Regions from separate parts of the Homo sapiens genome. Here region 2 is linked to region 1. Evidence: promoter capture Hi-C in 16 types of primary human blood cells and fetal thymus (Javierre and others, 2016). All regions are on one chromosome and are shown on one strand. Each heading gives the region's core, a stretch centred on a gene start or on the middle of the fragment in contact. The rest is flanking DNA. Distances are from core to core; before and after follow the strand shown.

The links. The method cuts DNA at HindIII sites, captures the fragments that hold promoters and counts their contacts. A CHiCAGO score of 5 or more calls a contact.
Region 2: a fragment that was not itself captured here is called in contact with the fragment with the promoter of PSMA4 in region 1 in 1 of 17 cell types (fetal thymus); the score reaches 5.5 in fetal thymus.

Annotation. Positions count from the first base shown.
Region 1 is chr15:78,536,450-78,543,370 of GRCh38, forward strand. It overlaps PSMA4 (proteasome 20S subunit alpha 4), which reads left to right and starts at 3,995. Exons shown (of 9, transcript NM_002789.6): 1 at 3,995-4,090; 2 at 5,456-5,481; 3 at 5,728-5,770; 4 at 6,034-6,196. The coding sequence starts at 5,479. HYKK (hydroxylysine kinase) reads left to right here. Exons shown (of 5, transcript NM_001013619.4): 5 at 1-196. RefSeq lists enhancers at 4,033-4,142, 4,251-5,143 and a silencer at 4,223-4,492. The HindIII fragment of the contact is 17,328 bases long and covers 1-4,120 here.
Region 2 is chr15:78,704,232-78,711,152 of GRCh38, forward strand. It overlaps LOC105370913 (a long non-coding RNA gene), which reads right to left. Exons shown (of 3, transcript XR_932509.2): 2 at 3,757-3,874. Among named protein-coding and RNA genes, the nearest start is that of CHRNB4, 66 kb to the left of the region's middle. The HindIII fragment of the contact is 1,638 bases long and covers 1,593-3,230 here.

The DNA.
Region 1 (6,921 bases), core at 2,745-5,244:
CTGGGAACCAGAATAATGGACTGAAACTTGGGTTTCACTTCCAGACCAGTGTTGATCCTCTGAATTGATGAAACTGTATAGATTTCCCTCTTGATTGCCCCTGCTAACATGGATTTCCTTTCACTCAATTCCTAATGCAAATATTGCTGACCACTGTTTAGATGTTTACATGCTGCATTACATTGATATTTTACTATTTGGTGTTTGTTCTAACTTGTCTCCAATCAATCAATTTCATGTGGTTTATATAAACTCTTTGGTGGCTGTGATGGTTAGTTTTAGGTGCCAACTTGCCTGGATTAAGGGATACAGAGATAGGTAGTAAAGCGTTATTCCTAAGCATGTCTGTGCGGAAGTTTCCAGAAGAGACTGGCATTTGAATCAGTAGCTGAGTAAGGAAGATCCCCCTCACCAATATGGGTGGGCACCATCCAATCTGTTGAGGGCCTGGATAGAACAAAAAGACAAAGGAAAGATGGATTCAGTCTCTCTCCTGGGACAGCCATCTTCTCTTGCCCTCAGATAGCAAAACTCCAGGTTCTTGGCCTTCAAACTCCAGGACTTAACCAGCGGCCCCTCAGGTTCTTAGGTCCTCAGCCTCAGACTGAGTTACACCATCATCTCCTCTGGTTCTCAAGCCTTTAGACTCAAACTGAAACACATAATTGGCTTCACTGGTTCTTCAGCTTACAGACAGCAATTGTGGGACTTCCTAGCCTCCATAATTTATTTCCATAATAAATCCCCTCCTGTTTATCTACCTATCCATCCTTCCATCCCATTGATTCGGTTTCTCTGGAAGACCCTAATATAATACATAAATTAAATATTTATTTTACTTTACTTTCAGGACCTAGCACCGTGCCAGGCCCCTAGAAGACCCAGTAAAGATCTGTTGAATAAACTGTAAGAATGAACACACCACTACAAGTGCCAGGTCCTGGTCCTTTCAAACAACGTGGAGAAAACCCAGTTCCAGATTTAGGAATCAATACCATATGTCTGGCAAAGACTCTTTGCTCTTGCAAGTGCCTTCTTCTGTTCAGGCTTTTAGCGCCCCTGGACTACAACAGAACTTTACTTTCTGGTATTCTTAGTCTCCCTAACCTCTGCACTTCATATTATGTAGGCAGATAAAAACTCTGGTTACATATATTGCTGTGTGATGACCAAAAAAAATTGTGGCTTAAAACTTTAATCATTTTATTAGCTCATGGTTTCTGGCAGTCATGAATTCAGGCAGGCCCTGGGACAGTTTGTCTCTGCTCCCCCCAGTGTTGGGGCCTCAGCTAGGAAGACTTTAAGGCTGGGAGAGATTTGATGCCTGGGAGAGACTCAATCACTGTGTAACCGAACACTTGCTTCTTACAGAGTCCAATTGACAAGGGTGAGGTATAATAGAAAGACAGAATTTATTAGCCAAAAATAGTAAAGGGAAAGCAATCGGATTCCTATCCAAATTAACGGCTTCTATTTTTAGGAAGAAGGCAGGGGTTTAAAAAGGGAAAACTTGATAAGGAAGGCAGACAAGAACTGGGCTGAGTACAGTGTCTGTGTGTCTTATTCTGGTGGCTATCTTGGGTCCTGGTCCACCTGGACCCTGGGCTGATGGCATTTCAACAACAGCCAGGTTGTTAACTAGCTGTCTTGAAGTAATCTCTGGAACTTTGCAGCTGGGTCTCCAGACTTGGTCTGTGTGTCTCAGGATTGACCCCTGGAACTTCTAAGAAGACACATAATTAGATACTAGTAGACAGTTGGATAAATGTGAAGGGAGTATATACAATGAGAAAGGGAGGGATGTGGACTCTAGAAAAGGTTTCTGCAGTTTGCTTCAAGGTTATATCTTTAAACCCAAGGAAAAGGGGAAAAAATTTTTAATGCAGTTTGAAGCTAAGCTGCCTGGTTACAACTGGGTACTAGGATCATCTGGAGGAATCTTCACTCAGCTGTCTGGCAGGTGACACTGGGACTTCATCTAGGCTGTTGGCCAAACACCTCTCCATGTGGCCTTTGCTTCCTCACAGCACAGTGCCTGGGTCCCAAGAACGACCATCCCAAGAGGACAAGACAGAACCATATCACCATTTGTGATTTGCTCTTGGAAGTCACATGATATCACTTCCATTGTAGTCACAGGCTCACCCAGATTCAGAATAAGGGGACACAGAACCTCTCAGTGGGAACCATCTGTGGCACATTGTAAGAGGAACATGTGGGATGAGAGATGTTGAGGGTTCATCATCCTAAAACATCACTTTAATCCTGTCTTCCCATTACTGACCAAAACAAATTCTGGCATTAAAGGCACTCTACACTTAGGCCTCAAATGCCTTTCCTTACTTCCTGTATTATCTCCTCCATTCAGATCAGACCGAACTACTCAGTCACCCACACTTGTCAGACTCATTCTTCTCTTGCCCTTTTTCTCAAGGAATCCCTCTCTTGACCTGAGAAATTCTACCTCTCACTTAAAAGTGACTGTTCACTGAATTCCGCAGAATGAACTAAGGTGGCAGGCAGGGGCCCTCAGAGATGCCATAAGTTACACCACCTGAGGATGCTTTCAGAGCACCACCTGCGTGTGGCTCTTTGCCATCTTGCCTTGGCTCACTTCCCTGTGTGCTTGGAAAGTAGAGACGATAGGCGAGACCTCAAAATGTAACTTACTTCCAAGCTATCTCCTTTTCAAAGCCCAGATCCCCCAATAATTTTGCAACCAACATGAAGAGGAGTTTCTGCCCAGTGGGCTGCTTTTTGGGAGAGACTGTGAGCAGATGACTTCATATTAACCCAGATCTAGTCAACCTTCTAGCCTGAAAAAACCTAAAATGCATAGTAGATAGTTTACATACGGACCGAGGCTGAATGAGCAAAAAGGTGGAGAGATGGATAATGAACACAGAAACAAGTATGACAATTTCAGTAAAGAAGATAAAATGGTGCGAGTATATGCTGACGGTAGGGTATTGCTTTAACTGTGCTGGTCAGGGAAATCCTTTCTGACTGGTGAAAAGCAGAGAAAGAGACCAAGGTGAAAATTCCCCCAAAAGTGTGAACCTGATCATAATTTTTTTTAATTTAATTTTTAGAGCCAGTGTCTTTCTCTGTCACCCAGGCTGGAGTGCAGTGGTGCGATCATAGCTCACTGCAGCCTCCAAACTCCTAGCCTCAAGCCATCCTCCTGCCTCAGCCTCCCAAAGCGGTGTAATTACAAGCATGAGTCACCATGCTCGACCCTCATCATAATTTTTTTTTTTTTGAGATGGAGTCTCAGGCTGGAGTGAAGTGGCGCACTCTCGGCTCACTGCAACCTCCGCCTCCCGAGTTCAAGCGATTCTCGTGCCTCAGCCTCCCAAGTAGCTGGGATTACAGGCGTGCACCACACACCCGGCTAATTTTTGTTAATTTTAGTAGAGACGGTTTCACCATGTTGGCCAAGCTGGTCTCGAACTCCCGACCTCAGGTGATCCACCCGCCTCGACCTCCCAAGGTGCTGGGATTACAGGCATGAGCCACCCGGCCTTCCTCATCATAATGTGTATGTCCAAAATGTATGCATCAGCAGTAAAAGTGAAAGCCAGAATGAAAAAGGAAGGTGATGAGAGGGGTAAAGTCTCATGTGGTTGGAACCATTTTGGGAAACAGGACAGGAATGATAGCAATTAAGAAGCCGGTCCACACTATTTGCTATCCTAGGTCTGAATAGTGAAGAGAAAATGAAAGGAGAGCGCCAAGGGTAAGAGAAAGAAATTAGCTATTCCACCTCCTGGTTGGCTACTGTCTTCCTGCCCTCTTCCCCATGGCACAGCAACTCCTCCACCTGCTGAGGACCCTAGCCTAAGCTGCAGCGCCCCAGAGCCTCAGCACCCCCGCGACCCAGCTCCCACGAGGGGCACGGGTTCTAGCTCCGCCCCGCAAGAAGGACTTCCGCGTCCTCGGCCGTCCCGCTCCCCCCGCCCCAACCCAGCGGTTCTGCGCATGCGCGGGGGCCATATTAGCAGCGGTTATTCGGTGAGCGGTGGTGGTTTATTCTTCCGTGGAGTTAAGGGCTCCGTGGACATCTCAGGTCTTCAGGGTCTTCCATCTGGTGAGCCTTTGGCCCCTTGGGGCCCGCGGAAGCTTGGCCGCTTTCCCATTGGGCGGGGGTCGTGAACGTCAAGACAGTCGGTCCCGGCCTGCAGTTGCCGCCGAGGAGCCGTGGGCACGATGACTCTGCACCGCCTCCTCTGTGACGGACCGACCGCCGGGAATGGCCCCCGCCGGCCGCCGTCGGGGGCTTCCCAGTGCCAAGCCTGGACGCCGGGGCCCGCGAGGGGGCGGGCTGAGGGTGGGGGTCTGTGGGCAGGACCGAGAGTTGGGGTGGCTTCCGTCCTCAGGAGTTCGGTACGTGAAAGTTAGCTCTCCCGGAGGTGCCGGTGAACTCAAAATAGTGCTGTGCCCGGCGTCAGGCGTGGAGACAACAGAAAGTTGTGCTTAAAGCTCGAATCAGAAATCCCCGGCGAGTGTCTCTGTGTCCTCCCTGCTTCTCTGCTCTGTGCCATCCTTACTTTGCACCATTCCTATTGCAATTACCTCAACCAGTTCGCTGCCCTCGGTCTCTCACCAGCCAGAGTGATCATTTAAAATGCCAATCAGTTCCTGTGGGCCTTGGGAATCATTCAGAGGAGCCCCATTGGCTGAGAGATAAAATTCTGTTTTTACCTGGGCACGCGGGCTCTCCAGGATTTGATTCCAGCTTACCTTTCCAGTCTTGATTCCCTATATTCCAGTATTTGGAAATGTGGGCCTTGGACTGAGGCTTTACCAAATAACGCTGAACACCTAGTATTGCCTTTTGCACGAATGGTACTGATGGTGCCCAAGATAACTGCCTCCACCCCCAAGTTCAGGACCCAGATCACTCTCTGGAGAAGGCCTCAGCCTCTTGCCTTGGCTTTCAAGGCTCTGCGTGATTTGGATACTCGCTTAGCTCTTATTTATATATATTTTAAAAGCATCAGCAGTTTATCTCATGCCCACTAAACTATCCTGCCTCCGTACCCTTTGTTCATACTTTCTGCTCTGTGTGGAATGCCCTTCTTTCTTCCCCTGTTCTTTCTCTTAGACCCAAGGGTTCTCAGCCTTATTTCTGCCTCTCCCATCTCTGATTTACTTTCATTTTCTGTATCGATTTCTCAAAAAATACTTTCTTGATTCTTTCATCATCCCTTTTCCCACCCTACCCCCGGTTCCTCTTTCCACATTATAATCTATGACTGCCTCTCTCACCTAACTGCCAGTATTAGCTTTTCAGGACAGGAACTGGTTTTACACATTTTGGTATTCCAGCATCTAGCATAATGCCTGACACTTAGCTGAATAAAGGGAGTAAATAAAACAGATTTGTAAAGTCAGCAAATGCTTTTTAATTTGTGAATCTTATTTTAATGATGATCTGATTTTCTTTTTACAGGAACTATATAAAGTTCAGAAAACATGGTGAGTTAATACACATGCCAATAAACGGTTGCCTGATAAACAGTATTGCTTGTACTCAGTTTACAGACTTGAGTGGGAAAATTGAAATAGAAGGAAAGCAGTGAGAAGGTGCCTTTTTTCTTGTCAGTTTCCTCTCACCTATTGAACTTTGTATACCAGGATAGGTTTTGTAAGATCATTTGTAGGCTTGCAGGAGTTGGCCTACTTTCAGTGGGTAGGAATCACTCATGTGTTTTTCCTTTGCAGTCTCGAAGATATGACTCCAGGACCACTATATTTTCTCCAGAAGGTAAAATAGAAATTGTTTAATCTGCCTCAAGTTTAAAAATAAATGTGTTAGACTTTTAGAAAAAAAAATTACAAACTTTTTTTGGTAGTTGCAAAGTTCATCCTTTTTGTACTTTGAAGCAATTATCATCACCAGGTTGATTATACCATAGAAGAGTGAAAGTGGAAATTTGTTTCTAGCTTGCTTCATTGCTGATTTCTTTTGGGCCAGTGGTGCAGGAGCACAGAGGAGAGTCTTGGCTTCTCACTGCTTTTGTTTTGTAGGTCGCTTATACCAAGTTGAATATGCCATGGAAGCTATTGGACATGCAGGCACCTGTTTGGGAATTTTAGCAAATGATGGTGTTTTGCTTGCAGCAGAGAGACGCAACATCCACAAGCTTCTTGATGAAGTCTTTTTTTCTGAAAAAATTTATAAACTCAATGAGTAAGTGAGATTTTAGGAAAGAGTTTAAAAAAAATCTCACTTTCTCACATAAGTGGGATCTATGTAATTTGGGAGGGCTCTTCCGTGCGATGTGGTAGAATTGAAATTGTGCCTTTATTTTGCTTGAAACCTCTTTGAGGCCTGGTACCATGTGTTACTCCTTTTAAGTGCAGGGCAAACACTTAGTGGAGAAACTAGCATTGTGTAATGATAAGAGTACAGACTTAGTAGTCACACAGATTTGGGTTCAACTCCAGGCTTCACCCATGCAGGCTATGTGACCTTGCACCGATTATTTAATTTCTTTGGGCCTCAGAGCCTCCTAAAGTGGTTGTGGCAGTTTAATGAAATAAAATGAATGAAATAAAATAGTATAGTATCTGGCATTTAGTAGGCCCTCAAAGTATTGTTTAGAATAGCTACGCAGGATTTTGTTGAATTACACTGAATCTTACTAAAGAACAAGCCTCTTAGAGGTCTCGAAGAATTTAGCCAAGCCTTGTACACTGTGTGAAATGTTTGTTATATTTGAGTGTGCAGAACTTTGCAGCTCATGGAGAGCTGACCGTGCTAAGTAGAGACTTTCCTTTCAGTGGTGGTGGGCTTGGTAAATGCTGATTATCAGGGCCTTTTGATAAACTTGTCCAAAGTGGTGTCACCCCTCCACAGAGCCTCTGTTGGGACCACTCAACAGCTGGCAGGCTTGGCTAGGCGTAGTCACAGGG
Region 2 (6,921 bases), core at 1,162-3,661, 170 kb after region 1:
AGGAAGAGAATATTCAGAGGAAGGTCACAGTGTAAGCAACAGTATGGAGGTGGGAAAGTTCAGCTCATGGATAGGAAAAATTGATCCAAGTTGGCAGGGCCCACAGGGAGATGTGGTGGGGTGGTGAGAGGTGGCCACATCAAAAGAACCTTGAATGCCAGGCTGAGGTGGGAGGCATTTCCTGTCATGTAGAAGGTGCCATGAGGTGGTGGGGAGGGTAACAGGATGAAAGGATATTTGGGAGGATGGATCTGGCATCAGTGATGGGTAGGGGTAAGGAGTGAACAAAGCTGGAGGCCAGGAAACTGGACACATGGCCCAGAGTTCAGGGTTAGGCTCTTCAAAGGCAGTTTCCACACTGAGTTCCCATGTGGATCCAAGCATACAGGGGGTAGATGATTTGGAAAAGCAAAACCATTCTCTTCCCATTACCACACAGTTTCCCAGCTGAGCTCATCACCAGAGTCCTACAAATCAGACAGTCAACCTGCCCCAAACTCTTCCCCTAGAAGCTGTGACCCAGAAGGAGTCCTCATCGAGCTGTAGCCCAGGGACACCGCAGCCTGAGCAGGACTGCACCTGTTCCCCCCCAGGAGCCTCATCTCTGTCTGGCCTGGCTTTGGCTTCAAATGCCCTCAGCTTTGGCTTCAAAAACTGTTGAGTCAGATTCATGAGAGCTCTGGCCTTCTTCAGTTTAGGGATTTTTAAATAGTTTTTTTCAAGCAGGCAGTAGATGAGCTCTGCTTGCTTACCTCTAAGAATTGGCTAGAACTCACAGAAAGCTGTTATACTCATAGTTATGGCTTGATTACATGGAAAGGAGACAGATTAAAATCAGCCAGGGGAAGAAAGGCATAGTGCTGGGTCCAGGAGAGCACCAGGCATGGAGTGTCCATTATCCCTTCCCCATGCAGTCAGAGTGCATTACCCTCCCGGCTTTGCTATGTGCCAATACACATGGAGTATTCTCAGCCAGTGAGGCTCCCTCAAGCCTCAGTGTTCAGGGTTTTTATTGGAACTTCATCAAAGAGGCATGATTGATTGTCCATGTGGCTGCTCTCAGTTTCCAGTCTCCAGTCCTTTTAGGGGTGACCTAAAGCCTGGACTCTAAATCACATAGTCACTTTTCCTGGCTTGGCTAGTTCCCACTATCTTTTTTTTTTTTTCTTTTTTTTTTTTTTTGAGACGGAGTCTCACTCTGTCACCCAGGCTGGAGTGCAGTGGTGCGATCTCGGCTCACTGCAAGCTCTGCCTCCTGGGTTCACGCCATTCTCCTGCCTCAGCCTCCCAAGTAGCTGGGACCACGGGTGCCCACCATGACGCCCAGCTAATTTTTTGTATTTTTAGTAGAGACGAGGTTTCACCATGTTAGCCAGGATGGTCTCGATCTCCTGACCTTGTGATCCGCCCGCCTCAGCCTCCCAAAGTGCTGGGATTACAGGTGTGAGCCACCGCGCCCGGCCCCCACCATCTTATTATTAGACTATCCATCATGACCCAAGATCCCCAGGCAAAGATATTCCTATCAGGCATTACGTGTTGAAGATTACCTCCCAGGAGTCTAGGACAAAAGCCAGACCTTTTTTTGGTCAAGCTTAATTTTTTAACATGTCATCATTCTGTTATCCTTCCTATCTGTTTTATCTTCAAAATAACCCTAATTGATGGGTTATTTTGGTTATCTATAATAAACATAAGAATGTTTATTATAGATGAGATCTCAAAAGGAAGGACACTTGAGCAAAGTTGCACAGTTGATCCTTGACTCATGGTACAAGACTCTTTCCACTACTCTGAGAGCCCTGAGTCCTGAGAAGAAGATGGAAGGAAGGTGGGTATACGTGTGTGTGCACGTGTGTGTGTGTGTAAATGTATTTCTAATGAGTATGTGTGGATATATGTGTGTCTCTGTGTGTGTGTATACATGTGGAGGTCTGTGTGTCTATATGTATGTTTGTGTGTGTGTGTGTGTGTGTACACATGCTCAGGGGGAAGGTTAAAGAGAAAATCAGCAGGGTGCAGTGGTGCACACCTGTAATGCCAGCTACACAAGAGGTAGACAGGGGAGGATCACTTGAGCCTGGGAGTTTGAGAGAGAGAAAATTTCAATAATCTTCTTCTTGCAGTTAGAAGGAAAAACCTGGGGCTGAGCATAAAGAGACATAAAGCACAGCATAAAGAGGCAGAGAAATGTCTAAGGGAGAACAAGTGACCAAGAATTAATTAGTTCATCTATAAAGAAATAGAGCACTTTAGCAGCAGAATAAAACTGGAAGATAATTTCCTCTAGAGCCCTGATAATCTTTGTGAGAAAACTGTTGGTCACATTAATTGCAAAAACTTGCAGGACTCTCTGCAACAGAACTGGCTAGTAAAACCATCTTTATAAAACTCACTATGCTACAAGTGGCATTCAACTCTTTCTCAACCAAGATTTCACAAACCTATCTCCAGCTTCCAGATGGTGAGGGAAAGTGTGATGAGACTTTATGATAAATTGTGCCTGTCTCTGAGCCCATCTCCTCCCGTTGAAGAGGAGGAAAATGAGGATAGCACATTATAACCCTGCCTGACAAAAGTCACAAGATAAGCAAATAATTATTATTAAAACCAGAGAGTCCTATAATTTATTCATGAATCCCACACATTCTATATTAGATCTTCCATTTCAATTTCTTGTATTCTTTGAAGCAAATTTATAAGATTTGAATTATTCAGAAAAGCTCCCAAGCTAATATAAGAAAACACTTTAACCACAGGAAGTATCATGCTACACAATATGGTGTGGTGGTGAAGGGTGCAGGCTCTAAAACCAGAAAACCCAGGTTCAAGTCCTGGCCCTACCACCTTGGGAGAGTTACATGGTCTCTCTGTGCCTCCATTTCCCCATCTAAAATGTGGGGATGACAATAATAGTGTCTATTTCACAGAGTTGTTTTGAGGAAAATAATATATGTAAAGCACTGTGAACAGCAGTCAGTGCTATGTAAGTGTTTGCTCTAGTTATTTTAACATTTTGGATTATAAATATCTACCCTGTTATTCAGATGACAAGCATCCCTAAGCTGATAACATGATGAAGAGCTCTTGTGTTCCTTGATTTTCCCTCAGCTTTGTGAGGAAAAGAATACCACATGAAGAAGAACAACTCAAGCAGGGGTGAGAAGGAAACTTGGCTTAAGTTTGGGGGGCTTGAGTTTATTAGGCTTTTGTCTTCTAAAAATCTCCTAAGCTTCATTGATAAGATGTTTAATATCAATCTAGCTAAAAAGGACCAATATACCCCACAAAACACTGAGTTAGACATAAAAACAGAAGGGTAATAAATGAAATATGGAAAACTACACAACCAGAAAAATAAACAACTACCAGTACCCAAAACATGGCTAAATCTCACAGGATTATGTTGAGTGAAAGAAGCCAGCCACAAACCTGCACATACTGAATGATCCCATTTATATGAAGTTCAAGAACAGGTGAAACTAATCCATGGTGACAGAGGTCAGGATCCTGGTTAACTTTGCAGGGACAGCAACTAAGAAGGCGCAAGAGGGAGCCCTCTGTGCTGATGGGAACATTCTGTATCTTGAGCTGAGTGGCGGTCACATGAGTGTGCACATATGTAAATAGTAAGGAGTTGTAGCTTAAGGTATATGCACCTCGCTGTATGTAAGATACTGTCTTAGTCCATGTGTGCTGCTGTAACAAAATATCTGAGACTGGGTAATGTGTAAAGAACAAAAATGTATTTCTCACAGTTCTGGTGGGTGGGAAGTCCAAGATCAAAGCGCCAGCAGGTTTGTAGTCTAGTGAGGGCTGCTCTCTGCTTCCAAGATGGCACCTTGAATGCTGAGTCCTCCAGAGGTGAGAAACGCTGTGTCCCAGCATGGTGGAAAGAACAGAAAAGCAAAAGAAGAAAACTGAGCTAGGTCGCTCCCTCAAGCCCTTTCATAAGGTCGCTAATCCCATTCATGAGGGGGCTCCTCCCTCACGATTTAGTCATCTCCTAAAGACACCACCCCTTAATACTATCACATGGGGGTTTAAGTTCCAACATGAATTTTGGAGGAGACACAAACATTCCAACCATAGCAAATATACTTTACTAAAAAGAAAAAAAAAGGAAAATCTTGTCTCTAAACATGATATTTTAAGTGTTTATATATTTACAGCCCAATTTTCTGCTTGCTTACATAGATATTTGTGACCATGAGTGTCATTCTTAGCTGAGAAAATGTTCAGTAAATTTAAAAAAGCCTCACATTATCTATTAATATCTTACTCAGATAAGATCAAATTTCTAACCTAGATTTTAGGTTAAGATAGAAACCCATGGTCATTTGCTGCAATGTGAGAATGACACAGAGAGATATTAATTAGCAGAATTCCACTATAAAACTAAATTTAAGGGCACAGTTCTCTACTAATGACTCCTCCAGACAAATCAATTACTTGGATATCAATGAATCAACTAAAAATGGAAGTGAGAACAGTTTGAGTCCTTTTTGCAATGGATGGATGTTTACGAGACTATTAAGTGAAGACGGTTCAGAAACAAGGAGATAAATGGCATGCTAATTTGGGGTTGAATGGAGTAATGGGGTGATCTTGGAAATATAAGAATCCTGCTTAATGGGGCTTGTCTGCTTGTAATTTGATAAACTAATATATGTAAATTCAATGAGATAAAGGACATGAGCACTCAGAACAAAATTACAGGAATAAATTTAGCAAAGAGGCACCAAAGTTGAGATAAGGGTCACTGTTCCACGTCTGACATCTTTAATTCTTGAGTCATGGGGATGGTAAGCCAGAGAACAGAGTCTTCTGACTGGAAGCTAAAACCAGCCTTTGGGGTGGGTTCAGAGACACTGTTCAGACTCAAGATGCGAAAGCAGATGTTGCCCTGTTGAAAATATCCCAATTGCAAGGGCATTTTCAAAGACAGTGGTGCTTGGGGGAAAGAGAATGCTGTGTGTTTAAAAAGAAAATAAATTAAAAGAAAGAATGGAAACAAGGAAGAAAAAGTGACCGGAGGGTAGGGTTGCAATATGTTCTGGTTTGCAAGGTACAGCTAAGGTTATGTCTGTTGTGCCGGTGCAATTATAATAGTGTCCCTTTCACTCTCCGAAGAATTTGGATGATAAAGCATATGATCACCCTACCAAAGAGAGGAAATGAGCCAGACGACCCATGTGTCTATTTCAAACAGTGTGGACTGATCCGCAGCCCTGTGCCACTGCCCAGATGAGCGGTGTGCACAACCTCTGCCTTGCCCTACCCCGCCCTGCTCGGGTCTCCAGGAAGGCTGGAGCGGAACCCTCGGCTCCCGCGCTGCTCTGGTGCCACCTGCAGGTTATATGCGGGAACTGCTTCTCTCCACCCTACTACCCTCCACCCAGCCTCCCGACCCCGACCCTGGATAGCCTTGGACTTGGCCAAAAGACATTCAGAGCACACGAAGCCCTGGCTGGGGAGTGGGCTGGACCCTGCAATGAAGCCCGCGTTACAGAATCAGACGAGCCCAGCTTAAACCAACAAGGCCAAGCTCCTCCTCTTCCTACCCACTCCTGTCCTGTCTCATTTTGTAGACGGGAAACTGAAGCCTAATTCAGATTTTTCGTTGGTAGGATTGTGAAGCATACAGCTGGAGCCTCCCAGGTGCCATTCCCCACATCTGTCTTTCCGCTACCACTTTAGGATAGTGAGGAAGCAAGAGAGCTTAAGCTTACTAAGCTCCTACTGTGTACTGGGCACAGAGTGGACACTTTTCTCTCCAGCCTCGCAATTGATGGGAAAGAGGTGATTATACAACTAGGAGACAGGATCAGAGTGGGCTAGCGATGTGCTTACAGTCTCTCAGCTGAAACTGGAACCCAGGGGTCTTTGACTGTAAAGCTAGTGCTCGTTTTGGGTCTCCAGCTTGAGCAATAGTTGCAAAATGCAAAGAGCACCTGAAAATCTAATATCAATCCATATAAGACTGTATTGTAAACAGAAACATGGAGTGTCTTTGTGGGGGTGATGGCAAGGTGGGGAGATTATCTCAATTCTATGTAACCTGGGAACTCTTGGAGGAAAATGAAGCATGACTGAGTGCAATTTGTCTGATAAACAAAATCTGTCAGGACGTGGGACCTTATTGGTCCTGGGTAGTGAAGGTAAGAAATCATGGTGCTGGACCTTTCTTAAAGTGCTTATAAAATCACTCAGGGCCTCAGTGCCTCCACCTTCTCCATGACCCCAGGCAGTTTCCCCATCTGTCTTCATCCTACTGCCTGGCACACTATCCATCAAACTGCTTTTGGGGTTATGTCTCAATAAAACAAAAATCATGGTGGGAGTCATTTACACCCTAGTGAGAGTCATCTAAGATTCCCTTTTCTTCTCAGACCTTTTAGCTGAAGTTGGTTATGAGAGAGGATGGGGAGGGGGAAAAGGGTTGGGGCGAGCACTCTTGGAGCTTGCACTGTTTCTTGCCGGTGCCCAGGCACAATGCGAATATGTCAGTCTAAATGGAGAGCTCCATGCATGTTCCTCTCTAATCCGTTTGTCACCAATACCAGTTCCCAAGGCAGAGCCCCAGGAGGGCTGGACTGAAGGACCTGGAGGTAATAGAAAACAACTTGGCTTTGGGTTTCAGGTCAAGCTGTGCCATGACTTGCTGTGTAACATCAGACAAGTCAGTTCACCACTCTGCACTTCAGTGACCTCATCTGTAAAAGGCTGGTCTGGACTAGATTAATGATTTTCTTTAGGTTTTGCAATTGTTTTGTTGTTGTTGTTTTGTTTTGTTTTGTTTTGAAACGGAGTCTCACTCTGTTGCTCAGGCTGAAGTGCAGTGGCACGATCTCAGCTCACTGCAACCTCTGCCTCCTGGGTTCAAGTGATTCTCCTGCCTCAGCCTCCCAAGTAGCTGGG